4 separate regions of the Homo sapiens genome follow, and all the other regions are linked to region 4. The links are contacts of gene promoters, found by promoter capture Hi-C in blood cells and fetal thymus (Javierre and others, 2016). All regions are on one chromosome and are shown on one strand. The core of a region is centred on a gene start or on the middle of the fragment in contact, and the rest is flanking DNA. Distances in the headings are between cores, read along the strand shown. Region 1 has its middle 10 kb from the start of PRECSIT. Region 2 has its middle 6.7 kb from the start of LINC00567. Region 3 overlaps LOC105370363 (a long non-coding RNA gene). Region 4 holds the start of NAXD (NAD(P)HX dehydratase).

What was found. The method cuts DNA at HindIII sites, captures the fragments that hold promoters and counts their contacts. A CHiCAGO score of 5 or more calls a contact.
Region 1: a fragment that was not itself captured here is called in contact with the fragment with the promoter of NAXD in region 4 in 2 of 17 cell types (naive B cells and endothelial precursors); the score reaches 6.5 in naive B cells.
Region 2: a contact is called between a fragment that was not itself captured here and the fragment with the promoter of NAXD in region 4, in 6 of 17 cell types (naive B cells, total CD8 T cells, endothelial precursors and 3 more). The highest score is 5.8, in naive B cells.
Region 3: a fragment that was not itself captured here is called in contact with the fragment with the promoter of NAXD in region 4 in 4 of 17 cell types (endothelial precursors, total CD8 T cells, naive B cells and 1 more); the score reaches 6.6 in endothelial precursors.

What each region holds. Positions count from the first base shown.
Region 1 is chr13:110,857,439-110,863,099 of GRCh38, forward strand. No RefSeq gene overlaps it. Among named protein-coding and RNA genes, the nearest start is that of PRECSIT, 10 kb to the right of the region's middle. The HindIII fragment of the contact is 1,935 bases long and covers 365-2,299 here.
Region 2 is chr13:110,803,894-110,808,941 of GRCh38, forward strand. No RefSeq gene overlaps it. Among named protein-coding and RNA genes, the nearest start is that of LINC00567, 6.7 kb to the right of the region's middle. The HindIII fragment of the contact is 3,142 bases long and covers 1,366-4,507 here.
Region 3 is chr13:110,830,624-110,835,470 of GRCh38, forward strand. It overlaps LOC105370363 (a long non-coding RNA gene), which reads left to right. Exons shown (of 2, transcript XR_007063874.1): 2 at 1-3,852. Among named protein-coding and RNA genes, the nearest start is that of LINC00567, 20 kb to the left of the region's middle. The HindIII fragment of the contact is 819 bases long and covers 3,174-3,992 here.
Region 4 is chr13:110,613,282-110,618,430 of GRCh38, forward strand. It overlaps NAXD (NAD(P)HX dehydratase), which reads left to right and starts at 2,264. Exons shown (of 10, transcript NM_001242882.2): 1 at 2,264-2,366. The coding sequence starts at 2,321. NAXD-AS1 (NAXD antisense RNA 1) reads right to left here and starts at 3,072. Exons shown (of 1, transcript NR_182301.1): 1 at 1-3,072. RefSeq lists enhancers at 1,345-2,272, 3,174-3,223, 3,244-3,293 and silencers at 2,474-2,723, 2,734-2,893. The HindIII fragment of the contact is 4,814 bases long and covers 600-5,149 here.

The sequences.
Region 1 (5,661 bases), core at 82-2,581, 240 kb after region 4:
GATTGTAAGGCTTCCCCAGCCATATGGAACGGTAAGTCCAATTAAAACTCTTCCTTTTGTAAATTGCCCAGTCTTAGGTAGGTTGTTATCAGCAGTGTGAAAACCTGCTTTTTTCTGTCACCACATGCTTTTCTCTGGTCAGACCACACTCAGGAAATGGTGTTTTCTGTGAGGAGGTCAGACACATGGGGTGCTTGTGCAGGGGGAAGAGATCAGATGGTGAAGAAATGGAGCCTGTGAAACCTAAGAAACCATTGAAAAGGCAGATGACATTTAGCCTATGTTGGGGGAACACTACAGCATATCCTAACCTTTCCTGTACTTGTCTTTATGAAAATGGAACTGCATAAATTATTTTGTGTTAAGCTTCTTTTGCTTAACCTTATGCTTATAAGACTATATTTATTACTGGGTATAGTTGGACTTCTTCCATTTTTCTTAAAAGATAACTCCATTATAGTTCCGTATTCCATTGTATGCACATGCTACAATTTCTCTATTCATTTTACTTTTGACGGACATTGGGGCTGTTTCCAGTTTTAGGGTGTTGGGACTAATGGAACTATGAACGTTCTTGGACATGTCTGCTGTTGCAGATCTGCATATTTCTCTGTTAAATAAATGTTTAGGAGGAGAATTGCTAGGTCACAGGGAAGTGTATGTTAAATGTCAGGAAATAATGTTCAACTGTTTCCCAAAATGGCTTTACAATTTACACTCTGACCAAGGGTGTATTAGAGTTCCCATTGCTATATCCTTATCAGCATTTGATAATGTCAGTGTTTTTAATTTTAGCTGCTCTGGTGGGTGTAAAGTGATACCTTGGTGTGGTTTAATCTGCATTTCTCTCACTACTTAATGATGAAATGGATCATCCATCAATATGATTATTGGCCAACTGGATACTTCTATTTATTTGTTCATTTTTTGTGAAGTGCCTGTTCAAGCCTCTTACATATTTTATTATGGATTGTTTGTCTTTTTCTAATTGACATATGAGATTGTAATATAAACTCCTGATGCAATCTTCTTGTCAGTTACATATGTTTCTTCCATTTCCTGGCTTGCCCTTCTATTCTCTTAATATTGCATTTTGATGATCAAAAGCTCTTATTTTTTAAAAATTCAAGTTAAAAAATTTTACAAAAATTTCAAACACCATTTATAAGTATTTCAGTACATATCATGGAAAGATAAGGACTCCTAAAATACAGATCAATATTAACAATAATTTATTAATATCATTAAGTATCTAGGGTTCAAATTTCCCCACTTGTCTCACAAATGCTTTGATTTTAGTTTGTTTGAAGTGAGGTCCAGAAAAGCTCCCTGCATTGCCGTTGGCTGACACATCTCCTAAGGCTCTTTTAATATCAGTTCACCCCTATATTTTACTCATTTTCCTCAGCAATTTATTTGCTGAAGGAACTAGGTCACTTGTTCCATAAGTTACTCTAGGTTGGATCTGTGCTGTCCAAGAGCAAGTGTTTTCATCAACCCAGGACCAACCTCAAGCCCTGGACTCACACCCAGGCAGTCAGGGGACTGTCTGGTTGAGGCAGCAGAGACTCCAGGTGGGGCCTCTGTATCCCCTGCCCGCATGCTGCTTGTGCTGAGCCCAGAGCATCCCCTTCTTCTCACTACATGCTTTAAATGGGAGTAATAAAGTGAAGGGTTCATTTGTCTTCATTTGCTCTGAGGCTGTGTGTTTTGTGGCCTCTGGGATCACCTATCTGAGAGTGACCTTGAGAGCATGCTTGCATGGAGATCATTCCCCACACAACTGCCTGTAAAAATCCATTGATATTTATTTCCATTGCAATTTCAGCTACCTGAGCATCATTCAGGGAGAACTAACTTCTTTATGACATCATCTTTTCAATTCAGTATCTCCTCCATTTATTTAGTATTTATTTCTCACAATAATGCTGTTTCTGCACAGAACTATTGCATACCTTATGTTAAATATATTTGATAGTCGATGTTTTTAAAACTGGCGTTCCTGATTAAACTGAGGTTTCTGTTTGTTACTGGTGTATAGAAATACAACTAAAAAAAAAAAAAGTTGACCCTATAGCTGGGCGTTGTGGTGTGCATCTGTAGTCCCAGCTACTCCAGAGGCTGAGGTAGGAGAATTGCTTGAGCCCCGGAGGTCAAGGCTGCAGTGAGCTCTGGTCACACCATTGCACTCCAGCCTGGGTGACAGAGTGAGGCCCTATCGCAAAAAAAAAATGTTGACCCTGCACCCATAAATGATTTAAACTCACTTATTAATTCTAATTATATTTGAAGTCTTTTAAGCTTTCTACATACAAAATCATATCATCCACTAATAGAATTTTTTTTCCTACCCAATCATTTTTATTTCCTCACCTTATTGCACCAGGAAAAACCTCCAGTAAAAGGTGAACATATGTGGGTAGGTGAGCATTCTTGTTTGTTCCTAATCTCAGAACACTATCAACATTTTGCTATATTCAGTGTGATGCCTGCTGTAAGGTTTTTGTTGTTTCCCTTAATTTGGATAAGAAAGTTCCATTTTCTTATATTACAAATGTGTATTTATTGAACACTTTTCTGCACAGATTAAGATAATCAGATGATTTTTCTTTTTTCTTTCTTGTTAACGTGATGAATTATACTGGTTAATTTCCAAACGTTAACCCATCTTGTATTCCTGGAATAAACCTGACGTGCTCACGGTTTCCATCTAGGCTCGTGAGTGGTTAGTGATGTGGTTTGGATATTCGTCCTGCCAAATCTCATGTTGAGATGTAATCCCAGTATTAGGGGTGGGGCTCGGTGGGAGGCGATGGGATCACAGGGTGGATTTCTCATGAGTAGTTTAGCATCATCCTCTTGGTGCATCCTTAAGATAGTGAATCAGTTCGCCCGAGATCTGGTTGTTTAAAAGTGTGTGGCACCTTCCGTCTCCCTCTCTTTCTCGCTCCTGCTCTCAGTGGGTGACGTGCCTGCTCCCGCTTCACCTTCCGCCATGAGCGAAAGCTCCCTGAGGCCTCCCAGAAGCCGAGCAGACGCTGGAGCCAAGCTTCCTTACAGCCCGCAGAACCAGGAGCCAGTGAAACCTCTTTTCTCTACAAATTACCCAGTCTTAGGTATTTCTTTATAGTGATGCAAAACCGGCCTAACACAGTTGGCTTGCAGTTTTCCTCTCCTGAAATGTCAGGTTTTGGCATCAGTGCTGTTTTCGTGTCATAAAATAAATATGCAGTGCTCCTTCTTTACTTATTCTCTGTAAGAATTTGTGTTTGCCATTTCATTGTTAGACGTTTATAAGAATTTACTGGCGAATTCATTTGGGATTAAAGAGTTCTTTGTGGGAAGATTTTAAATTGTACCTTCAGACAATAAATTTAGAATTAGGACTATACAGATTTCTTTCTGGTGTATATTTTGAAAATTTGCACTTCTTAAAGGAATTTGTCTATTTTATCTAAAATTTCAAGTTTATTGATTAAAAAGTTGCTTATAATATCCTCTTATCATTTTAATGAGGAAGATTCTATATGACCTTTTACAGTCTTGAAATTTTTAATCTTCCCTCTTTTCTTTGATCAGTCTCACCAATGGATGTTTAATTTTTTTAGTTATTTCAAAGAACCAAGTAATGGTTTTAATTGATCTTCTCTATTATACATTTATTTCCTATTTCATTAATTTCTTCTTTTATTTTTATAGTTTCTTTGGGTTTAAAATGCTGCTGTTTTTCTAACTTCTTAAAATGCATACTCAGCTTATTTTGGCTTTTTTCCCCTATAATATATGTTTCTAAATTCATACTTCTCTTCATGCAAGGCTTTAGCTATAACCTGAAAGCTACTGAAATGTAGTACTTTTATTATCATTTAGTTCAAAATACTTTTAAGTTTCCACCATGGTATCTTCTGTGGCTCATGGGTTATTTAGATGTGTATATCTTACTTGCCATACATGAGGATTTTCCGAGTGTCTTTTTATTACTTATTTCTAGTTTAATTCATTGTGGTGAGAGAAAATATCCATGTCCTTCAACTCGAATCATCTTTCATCGTGGGCATCCTAGTGGGTGTGAGATGGTGTCTCACTGTGGTTTTGATTTGCATTTCCCTAATGATTAGTGACGTTGAGCATCTTTTCATGTGCTTCTTGGCCATTTGTAGGTCTTTGGAGAAATGTCTATTTAATTGCTTTGCCCATTTTTGAATGTTTGTTGTTGTTGTTGTTGTTGAGTTGTGGGAATTCTTTATATATTCTAGATATCAACCCTTTATCAAGTATCTGATTCGCACATATTTTCTCACACCCCATGGGTTGCCTTTGATGGCTGTGTCCCTTGTTGCACAGGCTTAAATTTTGATGTGATCAAATTTATGTCTTATTTCCTCTGTTGCCTGTGCTTTCAGTGTCATATCCAATAAATTACTGCCAACTGCAATGTCATGAAGGTGTTGCCGTGTGTTTTCTTCTAAGAGTTTTATAGTTTTAGTCTTACATTTAGTAAGAGCTAAATCTTACAAAATAATACTTAATAAGAGCTAAAACTATAATTAATTAAGTGTATCCATATATGGTAATTAATATTAAGTAATATTTGTATGTGGTGGAAGGTAAGGGTCCAACTTCATTCTTTTGCACGTGAATGTCCAATTTTCTCAACATCACTTGATGGCAAGACTGTCTTTTCCCTCATTGAATGATCTTGGCACCCTTGTTGAAAATCATTTGTCCATATATGCAAGGGTTTATTTCTGGGCTGTGTATTTTATTCCATTAATCTATAGGCATATCTTTATGCCAATACCATATTTTAAAAATTACTTTAGCTTCGAAATGTTTTGAAGTCCGAAAGTGTGAGGCCTCCAACTTTGTTCTTCCTCAAGATTGTTCTGGCAATTCAATGCCCCTTGAGATTTCATATGAATTTTAGGATGGATTTTTCTATTTCTGCAAAAATGCCATTGGGATTTGATAGGCTTTCTGATTCACTTTTGAAGTATTCTCTATATGTGGAAGGACATTAGCCCTTGGTGTAGCTTGTGACATTCATTTTTTTGTTCCATGTGGAATATACCTTGGAGCATGGTGTGAGGTGGTGATTTAAAACTTATTTCCCCCAATGCTAAATCATATTTAATCCTTTCTGTACTGATTTCTGATAACACTATATATAAATTTCCCCTTTTCATTGGTCGGCTTCTGGTTTATTTACTTTGATCTGGCTTTACACATTTTTCTATTCCAAACTATCTGAAGTTCCTGCCCTATCATGCTGCAAAACTTTGGTGTGTGATTCTGAGAAACAAGGACACACTCCTCCATGGTCACCCCTAGCCACCATGCATGACAGCTGTGCTGACCACCATCCCACCCACCCTCAGGCTTTATTCACATGTCTCCAGGTGTCACAATAATGTCCCCTACAGTGAAGAATCCGGTTCACTGTAAAGGACATTATTGCAGCCATAAAAAAGAACGAGATCCTGTCTTTTGTGGGAACACGGATGGAGCTGCAGGCCATTATCCTTGGCAAATGAATGCAGGAACAGAAAACCAAATACCACAAGTTCTCACTTATAAGTGGGAGCTAAACAATGAGAACTCATGAACACAAAGAAGGGAAGAACAGGCACTGCGGTCTAGTTGAGGAAGGAGGGTAGGAGG
Region 2 (5,048 bases), core at 1,687-4,186, 190 kb after region 4:
AATTTTTATTGATGCTAAAAGTAATGGATGTCACCTGTGAAAATGTTCCTGTCTGCATACTTGAAAAAATAGCGATATCATTTTCTATCTTATCTAACAATCCTCCCAACAACGGTGAGTTTAAGTCCATTTGTTAAAAAACACAAGCATGCATTGCTTAATGATGGAAATACTTTCTGGGAAATGTGTCCTTAGGTGATTTTGTCACTGTGCAAATGACAGAGTACACTTACACAAACCTAGTGATACAGCTTACTGCACACCTAGTATGCCTATGGCTCCTAGGCCACGAACCTGAACAGGTGTGCAGTAGGCTGTGTGTCACTGCACTATGTATGTACCACACATAGTATGGATGGTACAGCCTATGGCTCCGAGGCTACAAACCTGTTTAGCATGTGACTGTATTGAATGCTGTAGACAACTGTAACACAATGGTAAGTGTGTATCTAGGCACACCTAAACATAGAAAAAGGAACAGGAAAAATACAGTATAATAATCTTACGGGACCACTGTGGTATATGTGGTCTGTTGTTGACCAGAACATCATTAGGTGGTACATGACCGTATTAAAATGTAAACCTTCTGATTAGTTTGCCAGAACAGCTAATTGATATCAGGGAAGATATTACCAGCTGAGTTTCAACAAAAAATGTTTACATAATTGGAAGATGAAATTGAAACATAAGTAACACGATTCAATAAGTCAATTATTCATTACTATCTGGATCTGTGCTTCTTTGAGAAGTACTTTAGATCAGTTTGACAGCCATTAAAATCAAGTACTGAAATTAACCGAACTGAGAGTCAGACCTTCAGATGCTGTATCAGAAAATGTTAAAGTAAGATTCTCAAAAATAGTGAGGTGTGTTCAATCGCACTGCTCTCCACTAAAAATATCATGAAGAACAGTAATATTTTAGTGAGCATAAAAGGTTTTAATATGACAAATAATATAAAATTATTTTAGAGTACTATTAGTTTAATCTTTAAATCATACTTTAGACATTTTATTGTTTTATAATATACATAATATGCCAGCATGGTGGTACGTATAGTTTATAGATACCTATGTATGCATTGGGTGGGTTTGCTCAAACATTTCACAGATAGGGGTGTAAGATTAAAAAAATGTTATAAATGACTGCACTGAAGGTGGTAAACCAAATACTATCTGACTGTACTGCAGAGTGAATTTTTACATGCGTTATCTCATTTAATTCTCACAACAATGAGATGCAGGTATTATTTTTCAGGCAATAGTTGTGCCTAGTTTTTAGTTCAGAAAACCCGAAATCTAGAGAAGTTAAAAAATGTATTTGTGTTTTCAAAGCAGTGAGGGATTCGCCGGGACTGGAAACCAAAGCTTTTGGCTCTTTTCATGTCATGGTTGTGACTAAGAATGGAGACTGTCCTCAGGGCTTCACGGTGTGTTCTAAAATGGACTTTCCACTTGACATGCAGCCTGAAATCGTAAAATCAGCAGTGACCCTTAAAGGAATACTTGCCAATGTGCCTTCACATGCTGGGTGTCCAACAGATAGAAGTTGGACCTGTAAATTTACATCGACAAATAAACAGCACACAATCCTCCTCTGAGCCATTCCCTAGAGTAGCAAGGCCGTTCTTCCTAGCATGTGAAGTAGTTTATTCCTCATGCAGGAGAGCATTATGAATCCTAATTACTGCTTCACATTTGTAAAGCACCTTCATATGGCTGGCTCATCTCATCACAGGTACTCTTAGATGGAACGGCGCTTACCCTCATTTTACGGAAAAGGAGACCCAGGCACAGAGAAGCTGACTGCTGCTGAGCTGGGCCAAGCCTAGAGCTCGCTGCTCCGATCTCAAGTCTGCCCACTGGATGGTGTATCTCCTGACCCAAGGTGCGGCAGACACCCAGTTACTTCTGCACAGCCACTTCAGAGAATCTCCTTCTGGGTGTAGTAGATTTGCCTCTGGGAGCCATTTCTTAGAATGCAGTTACGCTTTGGAAGAGATGGTGGCTATTATCTATTTATGCTGAAGTATTATTTAACCTATTAGGTTGCTTTCTAAACCATCAAATGAATAGAATTTTGTGCCAAAGAAAATGAGACAGGAGCCATGCCTATGATCTTGTGGGCAGAGAGGGAAAGTGGGTCAGGGCTCAGGGGCCTTGCAGGCATTTGGAGGGTGCAGCAGGGTTTAAAGTTCAAAAGTCACTCTTGGTATTTATACTAACCTAATGAAGGAGGAGAAGAGGTGATTCTTAGCCCCCATTTCACAGATAAATTAACTGAGGCTCAGAAGGGAAACTAATGTAACTTTCTTAAGGTCACACAACTCTTAAGAGGTCCCTACAAAACATTGAGTCTACTTTTTTTTTCCTTTTTATCTTTTGGAAACAGGGTCTTGCTCTGTCACCCAGGCTGGAGTGCAGCGGTGTGATCAACAGGTCATTGGAGCCTTGACCTCCTGGGCTCAGGGCATCTTCCTGCTTCAGCCTCCTGGGTACCTGGGATCACAGGTGCCTGTCAACACACCCAGCTAATTTTTGTATTTTTTTTTTGTAGAGACAGGGTCTCAGTATGTTGCCCAGGTTGGTCTCAAACTCCTAGTCTCAAGTGATCCCCCAGCCTCAGCCTCCCAAAGTGCTGGGATTATAGGCATGAGCTACTGGGTCCAGCCATCAGTCTACTTTTTCATTTCTGTTGCTAATACTTCACTTGGGTGGCTCTTACTAGGGGTAGTTCTGCCTCCTTGGAGCTGTTTGGTGTCTATGGAGACACTTTGGCCATCTTGATGATTGGCAGTGCTGCTGGTATCTAGGTAGGGTATCTGGTGGGCAGGGCTAGGAGTGATGGAGGTTTTAGAAAGTGCCAGGCATCCCCACACAGGAAGAATTGCTTTGCACCAGCCCTGCTTCCTAAAGGCCAGCTGGACATTCATGCGGAATGGCTTGACCTAGTGCTTGTGAGTTTTTGAGCCTAGAATGTAAAGCTGCACCCAGGTTCAGCGACAGACAAAACAGCAGGGCGCTCAGAGCCCCCCTGTCCAAGGTGCACAACCGGGGTTCAGACCTTCCCTATGAAGTGGTGCCAGGGTCCAAAATTCCCCTGGGAAGTGGCTGGAGGTCCCTTTCCAAACTCTCAGTGGTGCCTTGGGACTGCCTCTGCTTTGGAAGTATTTGTTCTTTATCTCTCTGCTCATATGCAAAAGAACTTATTAAAAAGCTGTAATGGAGTCTTGGGAAGTTTTTGTGATTGGATGCACCTGAGCTCATATCTTGGTTCTCCTACTTTCTTGGGCAAGTCACTAAACTACTCTAGATCTTGGTTTCTTTATTTGTAAAATAGAGTAAAATGCCCTTTTCATTTGGCCATCCAGAAAGTTAAATGAGATCACATGTGTGTTTAAAGCACATAGGCCTATTCCCATTTGATTCTTTCATTTCTTCTTCTCCCTTCTTTCTGATGAAGGAGGACTTTAGTTTGCTTCTGTAACTTAACCCATACTTAAACAGGAAGAGTATATTTAGCATTGAGAATATATTTTTTTCTGCAGCTGTCCTAGATTAAAATAAACAAAAATAAATAAATGAATGCCTACCATTCTGAGCAGCTCAGGGTGTATGTTTGAGACTGCTTTGAAACTCTAATACAAGCACAGGCATACCTGTCCTGGTGCTTTTGCACACAAGCCTCACACTGTCCAAGAGGACAGAGTGTGTGTGGCTCCCAAATGCATGTGGAGCCCCCTCCAGATCTGGGGAGGCTGCCCCATATGGTGCTGGACAGTGGCTGCACCAGGACCTGGAGGGGAACCTGAGACCTAGGCCCAGGCAGGTGGGGGCTGTGAACATGTGGCTGGGAGAGGCCATTGTCCATACACAGACAGCCCAAGTTGTTCAACTCCATTTGCCAACCCATGCCCTGCCCCTGGCTTGACTGGTCCCCCTCCTCTTCTGCTACTAAAGTATCTCCTGAAGCTGAGAACAAGCCAATGAGGATGATGGTGCCAGGGAGAGAGGATCCTGTGTTGGTCAAGGATGTGCGAGTAGCTGTTACCTCCATTGGCAGTTTTGTCACTAAAAGACCTCATTCACTTGAGCATTTGAGGATGACCAAATAGAATCACTAACTTTGGTTATTTCCAGTTTGGTCTGCATTAGACCATGACCAAGGAAAGCTGTGCCAATGACAAACCATATGCTTAAGTTTTCACCACATAAAAAGTTACTTTTAGGCAGAAGTCATGATACACTTTCCAAGAAATGGTTGTGGAATATTGTCCAAGCTGCGGGGGATTCGTTAAGTGGACATTGGAGAGCAGTGGTGCCTGGTGGCTTGGCACAGGTTCAGATGGAGAGACAAAAAAAAAAAAATTGCCATAAAATAAGCGAAGCATTGGTAGAGCCCAGAAAAAGTACCTGATTTTCCAGTTGGAAGTAACCCAAAAACGTGGTCAAGAATTTATATTGATTTTTCAAGACCTTTCTAGGGAAAGAACTTGAGGATCCTGGTAAGCTTTTCCAAAATGACTCAGAGTATCCATTTCTGTTTCTTCTCAAACCTTGCTATATATAATCACTGCAGGTCTGAAGAAACTCCACAAAACCTAAGCAGCCTCAATAAGAAGAAATCTAAACACACCATGGTCAAACTGCAAAAACCAAATCTTATGATACAGTGGGCAGTGGGCTATGTGTGCCAGAGAGGGCTTGATCTCAGGGGGTCCCTGGGGGTCTCCTGGTTTGTGTGGTATGTTGTTCTCAGAATATGACTGCCAGTAAAGTGCTGTATTTTCCAAGATGTAATCATTCCTTGTTTATTCGTTCCTGCCACCCTACACAGAAGGCATCAGAGTCCTAGAACGGCAGCTTGTTTTAATTAGAATTTCATGCAATTGAGAGAATTTAATAAGGTGGGTAGGATCTCATGTATTATATGTGTAATTAATAGGCAAAAATTAACAACCATTTATGCCAACTACAAACAGAAGATCTGATGGAATAAAGGACAACTTTTATAATAACAACAACTACTCGGAATACTGCAGGATATTA
Region 3 (4,847 bases), core at 2,333-4,832, 220 kb after region 4:
AGAGAAGAGATTCCGTTGTGCAAACACCTGGTCTATGGTGCTTCGTCCTCGCAGATGCGGCAAGCGGGTCCAGCCAAGAATAAATGCGAGGTGGGCAGCAGCGGAATCACTTCTCACTGGGGTGGGATGAGGCCAGAGGGAAACGAGGAGGTGGGCTCAGAAGCCCAGTTCCCCAGTGGGGTTTTCTTTTTCCCTTCCCGGGGGGTGGCTCCTGCGTGGCTCCTTTTGCTGCCGTCTGCCCATCCTGACTTGATCTTATTTGCCCTGGCGGAGCTGCCTTCCCCCTCGTGTCACCTCTGCCCTTTCCGGGAGGGGCCCTTGTTCTCCGCCCCCAGCAACACTCCCATCCCGTGAGCCTCAGGCTTTGCTGCCGGTCTCTGCTGTCCCAAATGCGCGGCTCACTCCTGTCCTGTGTGGGCTGTCACCTGGCGGGGGAGTGGGTGGATACAGAGGTGGTTAGGCTTCAGAACGGTTTCCCTCTCCTCTGTGACTGGCAGCTCTGTCATTCATCAAACCCTGAGATGCCAGACAGTTTCCTATCTCTCAAACAAAGGTTAAGCAAATCAAGTTTTCACAGAGTAAAGCTGATCCATTGACAGGACAAATTGCTTAAGGAGAATTCATCTCACTGTCGGCAAAATCCATCAATCTAGGGTTAGTCATTGAGTATCTCCTGCCAGAGCAAGGGACCAAAAAATGAAGGGATGAGGGCGAGCAGGAAATACTCAGGCCCTGCCCGCAGTCAAGGACAGGTCCTGAGCAGGGGCTGTAATGGAACAAGAGTGTTTCCTGTTCCTCTCCCTAACCCAGGCCCTCACTCCACGTACCTAATGCCGGGTCGAGCACTGAATAAAGCACCAAGAGATACTGTGCATGGCACACCCCTGTGGGCAGCCTCCCTGCTCTCCTCGGTCAAGCAGGGCCCCCTTGTGTATCCCCATCTACCCCACTGCAGCCCCACACAGGTTCTCCCCAGCCTGTGGCCCAGCCCCTGCCCCTGCCATGCAGTTGCCCCCCACAGCCCCCCATGGAGGCCTCTGCCCAGCTCTCAGCCCTGGGGTGAGCTCACCTCCCAAGCCTAGCCAGAGGGAGCGCAGCCCTCCTCACACCCTTATCTCACCTCCCCACCTCTAGACTGTGCAGGAGCTTTCTGCTGTGTGAACCCCCAGGCCATGGTGCCTGGTCCCTGCAGACACAGCGAGGGAACCACCCAGAGGTGCATGTGGAGTGGGTGGATGGCAGCCAGGAGGCTCTTCTCACCCAGGGGATGAGGGCAGAGGAAAACCAAGAGGGAAACCAGGCCACAAGGGGCTCACCATGCCTCTGCCCCTCCTGTCCATGGCGATGACCACGGTGGACACCAGCAGGCCCCAGGCGAGGCGGCGGGAGGCAGCAGGCAGGATGGGCCATCCAGGGAGGGAGCTGGGAGGCCGAGTGGGCAGTGATGGGCTTCAGTCTCCCTGAGGGGCTGTCCTCCCACTGAGGAGTCCTCAGCCTCATTAAATAACCAGGGTTTGTCTCTGTGGCGTGGGTGGCAGGGACAAAAATCAGTGCCCAGGAATCACGGCTTCCTCCCTCCCTCACTGCCCAAGCGGGAGATCAGGCTCCTTCCCCACCTCACAGCAGCCAGAGGTGGGGGCCTGGGAGCTGGGAGAGGAGAGATTCATATCACCCAAGGGGCTCTGTGGGAGGAGGTAAAGGTGCCTTGGGGGGAGGAAGGGTGACGAGGATCAAGGATGATGCTGGGCTTGGGGAGGAGCATGGGGAAGAAGAGTGTCCTCCCAGGGCTGTGGGAAGGCAGGGGAGAAAGAGCACATGAGAGGCGGCACCACCCTGGTGTTCCCTGGAGAGACCCTCACAGAGGCGCTGGTCTGTTGGTTGCTATGAAGAGGGTCCCCTTTGATTGACATGCGGAGGATGCTGCATGAACTTGGAGCCGAGGCAGTGGGGTTTTCACAGCTTGGAAAAGCCCAGACTTGGTATTTGTTATGGGTTGAGTTGTGTCCCGTGAAAACCAGGGTTCTGGAGCCCGAAACCCTGGTACCTGTGAATGAGAGCTTATTTGGAAATTGGGTCTTGCAAACATGATGAAGTCATGGGGATCATGAGGGTGGGCCCTAGTCCAGCATGATGTCCTTATGGGGAGGCGAGAACCCTGTGTGAAGACTCCCACGGGACAAGGCCTGAGATGGAGGCAGAGATAGACACGGCACATCTAAAGCCAAGGAACCCTGAGCCTCACGGCAGCCCCGGGAGCTGGGGAGGGGCTGTGGAGGACTCTCCAAGTCTCAGGGAGGCGGCCCTGCTGACATCCTGACTTCAGACTTTCCAGCCTCCAGAACCGGGGGATGATAATCCCTGTTGTTTTAAGGCCCCCCAGTTCGTTGTTACAGCAGCCCCAGGAAGCTAATTCAGCACTCTAAGTTGCATTGCAAGCAGAGTCCTTCAGGAGAATGCGAGGAACTGCGTGGTCCAGCTTGGGCTGAGGGCAGTGAGCAGAACCTTGCCAGGAAAGGAGACCATGGCTCACCAGGCCAGGCAGCCCTCTCTCCTCTCTGGCCCCAACGGGCACAGCAAACTGAGGCTCCAGACAGGAGGCTGAGCACAGGCTGTCTCTGCCCTGTGCCCACACCTGCTTGTAAGCTGAGGGCATTTTATTGGCACAGACTTCAAAAGCATTAAAAAACATCCCACATGGTAATGTTATGTACAAGCAAGGTAATTCTACATGTCTGGAGAATGGATGTAGCATAAATTGGGTCTTTTGGCCAAAATGAGAAATAACAGATGCAAAGATATTGCTATTTAACAAATGCACAGTTTTGCTCCACTTTTGGTTAAGAGTCTTGTTTGCTTTTGATGAAGAGTCAAGGACTGAAATAATGTAAAAAAGTTAAGAATATTTATTTAAACAGGAATTTTCATCTAAGGTCCAAGCACAAATAGCCCCGGCAACACCACGTTCCAGCACCGAGCACAGTACGATAACTGTGCTCAAGGTTACCTTCCATTTCAAGTTGTAAGCATTTTTCCAGAAATATCTATGACTGGAGTTAGAACCATGACGGCTCAGTCATGTTGTTAGTCTCATGATGAAGAACATGAAATAGTTTGGAGAAAAAGACAGATACATTTAATGGTTCCAAATTACAGATCCTCCACGGTGGATCAAAAGCTTACTGGGACATTTTTCTTTAAGGGCAAGGGAATTCAAGATACTGGTGGCGCCATTTCAACAAATCATTGCCGTAAATGTGGTTTGCGGGAGGCCACCAGGCTGGTGGACATGGGTTGTTCCACCAGGCTAGAACACAATTGCTTTTGTGTGTTGTGTGTATGTGTGTGTCTTATGTATGTTTCTGTGCCGCGGTGTGTGTGTGTGTGTGTGTGTGTGTGCACAATCTCAATGCAGGTAGGTTATCCAGGCACACGGGACACCTGGTAGAGCACCTTTAGGAAGATGAGCCAAGAATTATTTCCATAAACCATGTCAGAATCGTCACTGAACACTTGCCCTTCCTCCTTATGAAAATGTTTAATTTACTCATTGTTAGACAAAAAGGCAGACGCTTAAGATTTTTCATCATTGTAAAAGAAGTGTTATCTATGGCAAATGAGTCAGTAAACACATCCTAATAGCAATATGCTGCAAAATGTGTCAATTTGAGGCCAAACATGTTCCTTTATTAGAATTGATGTTCTCCATCCTGAAGCTCCTATTACAGCCTCATTTGGGTGGAAGGAGGAATTTCAGGGAGCAATGCAGTTCAGCAGAAATTGTTGACACGTTATCTCCCTTCACCAAAGGTCAACATTTGATGGAAAGTTACACATAATAAAATAATTCCCAAATTTGGTTTCCAGAGCAGGGTTCTTCACCTGGCTGCCCCTTGGTCTCACCGGGGGAATCACGACAACGTTCTGATATTCAAGCTGCACCCTACACCACCTCTGTCAGAATCACGGGCTGTGGAGACCAGTGTATTTTTTTAAGCTTCCAGATGTTTCCAATGTGCAGCCAAACCTGAGACCCAGGGCTCTACTTTGCTATGTGAACTGTGGTTCTTGGATGAGTGTTATCAGTGCCACCTGGGAGCTTGTTAGCACCGCAGACTGTCAGGGGCGCTCCAAACCTGCTGAATTCCAGCCTGCATTTTAACAGGATTCCTCGGGACTGCTGTGCACGTTAAAGGTTGAGAAGCTTAGGCATGGAGGCATTGCTCTGCCCCTGTGTGGCACTTGGGAGGCCAAATGTGTGGAATCAATTCCCTATGGCCAGGACAGTCTCAAATAGAGGGGAAGAAAGCCTCTGTATCGTGGGCCCTGGTCGCTGACAACTCTCTTGCTAATTTGTGGGTCCTTAGGCTGAGCACCCACCAACTTCTGGGGAAACATGTTTTCTTGGGCCTCACAGGCATGGAGAGCTTTAGGGGAACCCTACACACATATGTATTATTTCTTAAAACTGGTCTACCTGAGAACACCTCTCTTCTGCCACACTTCCTCTCCTTTCACTTTTGAGCCCCTGCCACCATTCATAAGGCAGCCACCACTCACACCCATCCCACTTCTCCCTATGGTGCTTTGCTTTGGAGTTTGAAATACCTGCTATATTTGCAAAAAGCAACACAGGGAGGATAACCCAAAATGAATGAAATGATTTTCGTGTAAAGGTGGATGGGAATGGGGTGAAAGGGATGGGGAATATATCTTGTTTGTAGTTTTGAATTTTGGAATTGCGGTTAATGATTCATATGCTTATGAAAATAAAATGAAATAATTAAAGATAGGGAGAAATACTCTAAATTGAATACAGCCAGAAACAAATAAAACTTACTGTATTTCAG
Region 4 (5,149 bases), core at 1,014-3,513:
AAGCTCAGTTACTGTAGTTAAACTCCTTACTGGTTTGGTCTGGTAGGTGTAGTTCAGGGTTTCACTCTGTTATCAGAAAGGGGTTCCAATCCAGACCTCAAGAGGGTTCTTGGACCTTGTGCAAGAAAGAATTCTGGGCGAGTCCATAAATTGAAAGCAAACTTATTAAGAAAGGGAATAAAAGAATGGCTACTCCATAGGCAGAGCAGTGGCACTGGCTGCTTGACTGAATATACTTATGAGACTTGAAGCCAGCTGGACTTCCTGGGTCGAGTGGGGACTTGGAGAACTTTTCTGTCTTACAAGAGGATTGTAAAATGCACCAATCAGCACTCTGTAGCTAGGATTGTAAAATGCACCAATGAGCGCTCTGTAGCTAGCAAGAGGATTGTAAAATGCACCAATCAGTGCTCTGTAAAACGCACCAATCAGCAGGATCCTAAAAGTAGCCAATTGCAGGAAAGATTGAAAAAAGGGCATTCCGATAGGGCAGAAACAGAACATGGGAGGGGAGAAATAAGGGAATAAAAGCTGCCCCACCCCCCCACCCCCGCCAGCCAGCAGCAGCAATCCACTTGGGTCCCCTTCCATGCTGTGGAAGCTTTGTTCTTTTGCTCTTCATAATGAATCTTTTTTTTTTTTTTTTTGAGGTGGAGTCTCGCTCTGTGGCCCAGGCTGGAGTGCAGTGGCCCGATCTCGGCTCACTGGAAGCTCTGCCTCCCAGGTTCACGCCATTCTCCTGCCTCAGCCTCCTGGGTAGCTGGGATTACAGGCGCCCGCCACCATGTCCGGCTAATTTTTTGTATTTTTAGTAGAGACAGGGTTTCACCGTGTTAGCCAAGATGGTCTCGATCTCCTGACCTTGTGATCCACCCGCCTCGGCCTCCCAAAGTGCTGGGCTTACAGGCATGAGCCACCACGCCCGGCCTCTTCATAATAAATCTTGCTGCTGCTCACTCTTTGGGTCTATGCCACCTTTAAGAGCTGTAACACTGTGAAGGTCCGCAGCTTCATTCTTGAAGTCAGTGAGACCATGAACCCACCGGCAGGAACTAACTCCACACATAGTTATAGTTATCTCTTGATTATAGGCTAAATAAGGAGGGGATTATTCATGAGTTTTCTGGGAAAGAGGTTGGCAATTGCTGGAACTGAGGGTTCCTCCCCTTTTTAGACCATATAGAGTAATTTCCTGATGTTGCCATAGCATTTGTAAACTCTCATGGCGCTGGTAGGAGTGTCCTTTAGCATGCTAATACGTTATAATCAGCAAATAATGAGCAATGAGGACACAGAGGTCACTTTTGTGGCCATCTTGGTTTTGGTAGGCTTTGGGCCAGTTTCTTTACTGTGTCATCTTATCAGTGCGGTCTTTGTGACCTGTATCTTGTGCCCACCACCTCATCCTGTGGCCAAGAATGTCTAACCCCCTGGGAATGCAGCCCAGTAGGTCTCACCCTCATTTTACCCAGTCCCTATTCAAGATGGAATCGCTCTGGTTAAAAGGCCTCTGACATGTTGAGCCATCCTTTCACCTCAGCCTCTCAAGTAGCTGGACTACAGGTGTGCCACACCATCCCCTGCTAATTTTCCAAAAAAATTTTGGTAGAGAAGGGGGTCTCCTTATGTTGTCCAGGCTGGTCTCAAACTCCTGGGCTCAAACGATCCTTCCATCTTGGCCTCCCAAAGCATTGGGATCACACGCGCGAGCCACCGCACCTGGCCCCACAAGTTTCTTTTAGCACCATGACGGTGGCTTCAAATAGGGCGGCAGTGGAGGTAAGAGGCCATCAGCCACAGGAGGAGCGTGGGTGGGAGGGCAGGAGAGGTCAGAATGCCTTCCAGGGGTTTGGGCCTCAGCGTTGGAGTGATGGAGCTGCCCTGACCTGAGACGGTGGAAAGCGAAGGGGCCTCGCAGCGAGCTGGTTTGGGGTTCAGGGCAGAGGTTGCGCCTGGAGCAGAAAGGCACCTGACTGCTATACTGGGGGCACATAGTGGGCCTCGGCACTCCACCTGCCAGCAAAATCATTTTCTATAACGCCGCAAGCCTAAAAATGGGCCGATAAACACAAACCAGACCCTGAACCAGATCGTTGTTAACTCTTCAACCTGCCTTCCAGCCGAACCTCTTAGGCCAGAGCTGGGACCAGGCCGGGTTGGGCGTCGCGCTTGTCAATCATCTAGAACCGGGTGTGATTGAGCGAGTTGGGATCCCACTGCCGACAGCCGCGCGGAGGCGGTCGGGAAACCGGAAAACGCTTCCAATGGCTGTGTTTCCGGCGACGGCGCGGGGGCAGCTGGGAATCCGGAATGCTGCCCGATGGCCCTGGGTCCTCGCTGTGGGGCAATCCGGGCTTGCAGACGAGGTAAGGTCGATTCCATTTGGCCCGGGGATGGTCACACGCGCGGGGGCCGGAACTGCCGTCGCCGGCGCGGTCGTTGTCGCATTGCTCTCGGCCGCACTCGCGCTGTACGGGCCGCCACTGGACGCAGGTACCCGACCGCTGACCGCCTCTGCTGGCTCGCGGGGGGGAAGCGCCGCCGAGGGGCAGCCCGCGCGCGGGGCCGGGGCGCCGTGTGGCCTGCGGGGCGGAGTAGGGAGAGGACGGAGGCCTCCTGGAACGGCGCGGCGACGGCTGGGCGCGGCTTGGGTGATGGGAGCCTCCGTGCGGGGTGACAGAGGGGCAGAGGGTGGCGCCGGGCCGGAGCCAGTGCGCGTCCCAGGAGCGGCGGAGCCCGCGCGGTGGCCGGGGAACGGGGGGCCGAGGGCCGAGGACGGTAGGAGGGCCCTGGGGCGCCGTGGTGCGCTGGTCGGATCCGTCTGCTCTGCTCTGTCCCCGCTCCCGGTCTGGGAAAGATGCTCGCCAACTGCGGGCTTGCTGTTTGGTCGGAGCTGGATACGGGGGCCCTCCTGGGGCCCAGGGACGCGGCGGGCGTGCAGGCGAGCTGGCCGGCTGAGCGGGCTTCGCGCACACCAGGAGCAGGGCCGTGTCTGCATCCCCAATTTGAAGTCCCAGTGCGACTGGGCAAGTACAGACCCTGCACGTCCTTGGACGAGAGGGACTGGATATTGCGACGCCTGGGCCGCAGAAAAGGACTCCACCAGCCAGGCCTCCTTCGCCCGCCCCCGGTTCGGGGTGTGTGTGTGCGTGTAGGAGGTCCCTTGGGGAGGGAGGCTCACCTGAGTCATCCCCAGAACCTGAAGTGCTGGCCAGATGTCCCCGAGGGCCCTGCCCTGGCCTTGGCTGGTCCTTGCACGCTGAGATGCCTTTTCAAATAGAACGGATAAGGTAGAAAGAATTTAAACAGGAGCTGAGCAAGTGCTTGGAGCCCCATCTCTTCATAGGGTTTTTTTGTCTTTCTGTTTGCCTTGTTGGTATTGGTGTATCTAACATATTTTATACAGGAAGTAGTTCGTGTATATCTCATTTCTCATAAGGAGAGATTGCTGTTATCCACCTTGGTATAGAAGATAAATAGAAGCTCAGAGAAAGTGACTTAGCCAGGATTCTCCAGCCAGTGAGTGGCCGAAATGGTTAAACGCACCATTTGTTGCTGTAGTCATTAGATAGATTTTACCTTGTGTGTATGTTGGGCATCGTCAGAGAGTTTGGCTTTTTGTTTTCATCAGCACACACTGAGAATGCACTGGGTGGCGCTGAGAGGGTACTCTACACTGCACCTCACTCACACCAGCAGGGAGGCTTCTTAACACTTTATTTAGAGATTTATTTGTAGCTCTTTACCTTAAATTCACACACCGTGATTAGTAGCAAGATTTTTCATTGCGCTTGGTTGAGGATTTATTATCAGACTGCCTAAACTTTTACGAAAAGCCAGGTAGAGTTGTATATTACTGAGGCTTTAGGAAATATTTCAGTTAACTTAGGGATTGTGGTTAAATGCTCTAAATTAGTTATAACTCACATTAACTTAAAGTATTTTTGTTTTTTTAAGTAGAATTTTCCAGTACTAAAAGCACTTTTAGCACAAAGCAGCAGTGATAGTCTTCCCCAGACACGCTTCCTTAAAACAAAAGCCAAACAAATTTAACCTGTTCTTCCAGACTCAGAATTGTCTGAAGAGTTACCGAATGGGATACATCTTAAGTCGCCTATTGTCAAGGCCTTTTTATCCTTCAGAACTTTGATCTTTATATGTAAATGTTTCTGTGTTAACATTTGAAATGTTAAGTTCAAATGGTGACGTCAGTAAGCCAGCTGGAACTTGCTTCACTGCCAAGTGCTGGGAAGTTTAGTTGACCTGCTTTGGCCCTTTTGCTAACAGAAGCTGTTTATCTTAGGTGAATGCTGGTGAGCAGCCTGGATTTTACTTTGTGTTAATACAATTCTATTCAAGTGAAAATGCTATACTTCTTATTTTGCCTTAAAATGGCAGCATTTTACACCTACTGTGTGCCCACAAAAATAAAAACAAAAACATGGCAGCACTTTGGTAAAATAGTGTCTTGTGGCCTGGCTTGTCCATTACTAACCACAGCATCTGCACAGGTTTCTCTCTGGGCCCCAGTTTCCTTATCTGTAAAAGAAAGATAAAGTGCTAGTGAGGAGAGTGAATCACGATGTCTTGACTTCATCGAACATGTATCAAGTGTCTTGTTCTGTGCCAGGCTGTGTTCGAGGTGATTGAGTCCCACATGGAAGCAGTCAGTGCTGCAGCTTGCGGATGGTGCCACATTCCTCGTGGGCAGGCAGTAGTAGGGTGCTGATTCTCTGCCAGTCCAGACATAAGAACTTCCTTCTTATGTCCAGGTCAGCCCCTACCATGTAGGTTGTCTGTGTGCTCGAAAGGTTTCAGAACCCCACATGTAATAATAGTTACTTTTGGTATCACTTTGAATTTTTAAAATTATGTAGCAAAAAAGTTACTATTAATTATATTATGAGTTTAACATAATTTTAAGCTAGCTTCCATTTGAGAGCCGTTGTTCTCATGTGTAAATCTTGAAATATTCAGTTTCTGGATGGCGCTTCTTGTTCTCCAGGGTTCTTAGACCCAGCCCTTACGGTAGCATCATGGCCAGGGAACTGGGAATCTCACAAAGTCTTAAGATTTCACAACGGAACAGGAGCAGGAGGAGGCGACTCCCGCTGGTGGGTTGATCAAGTTGCTGTGAAGGTGGTTTGCA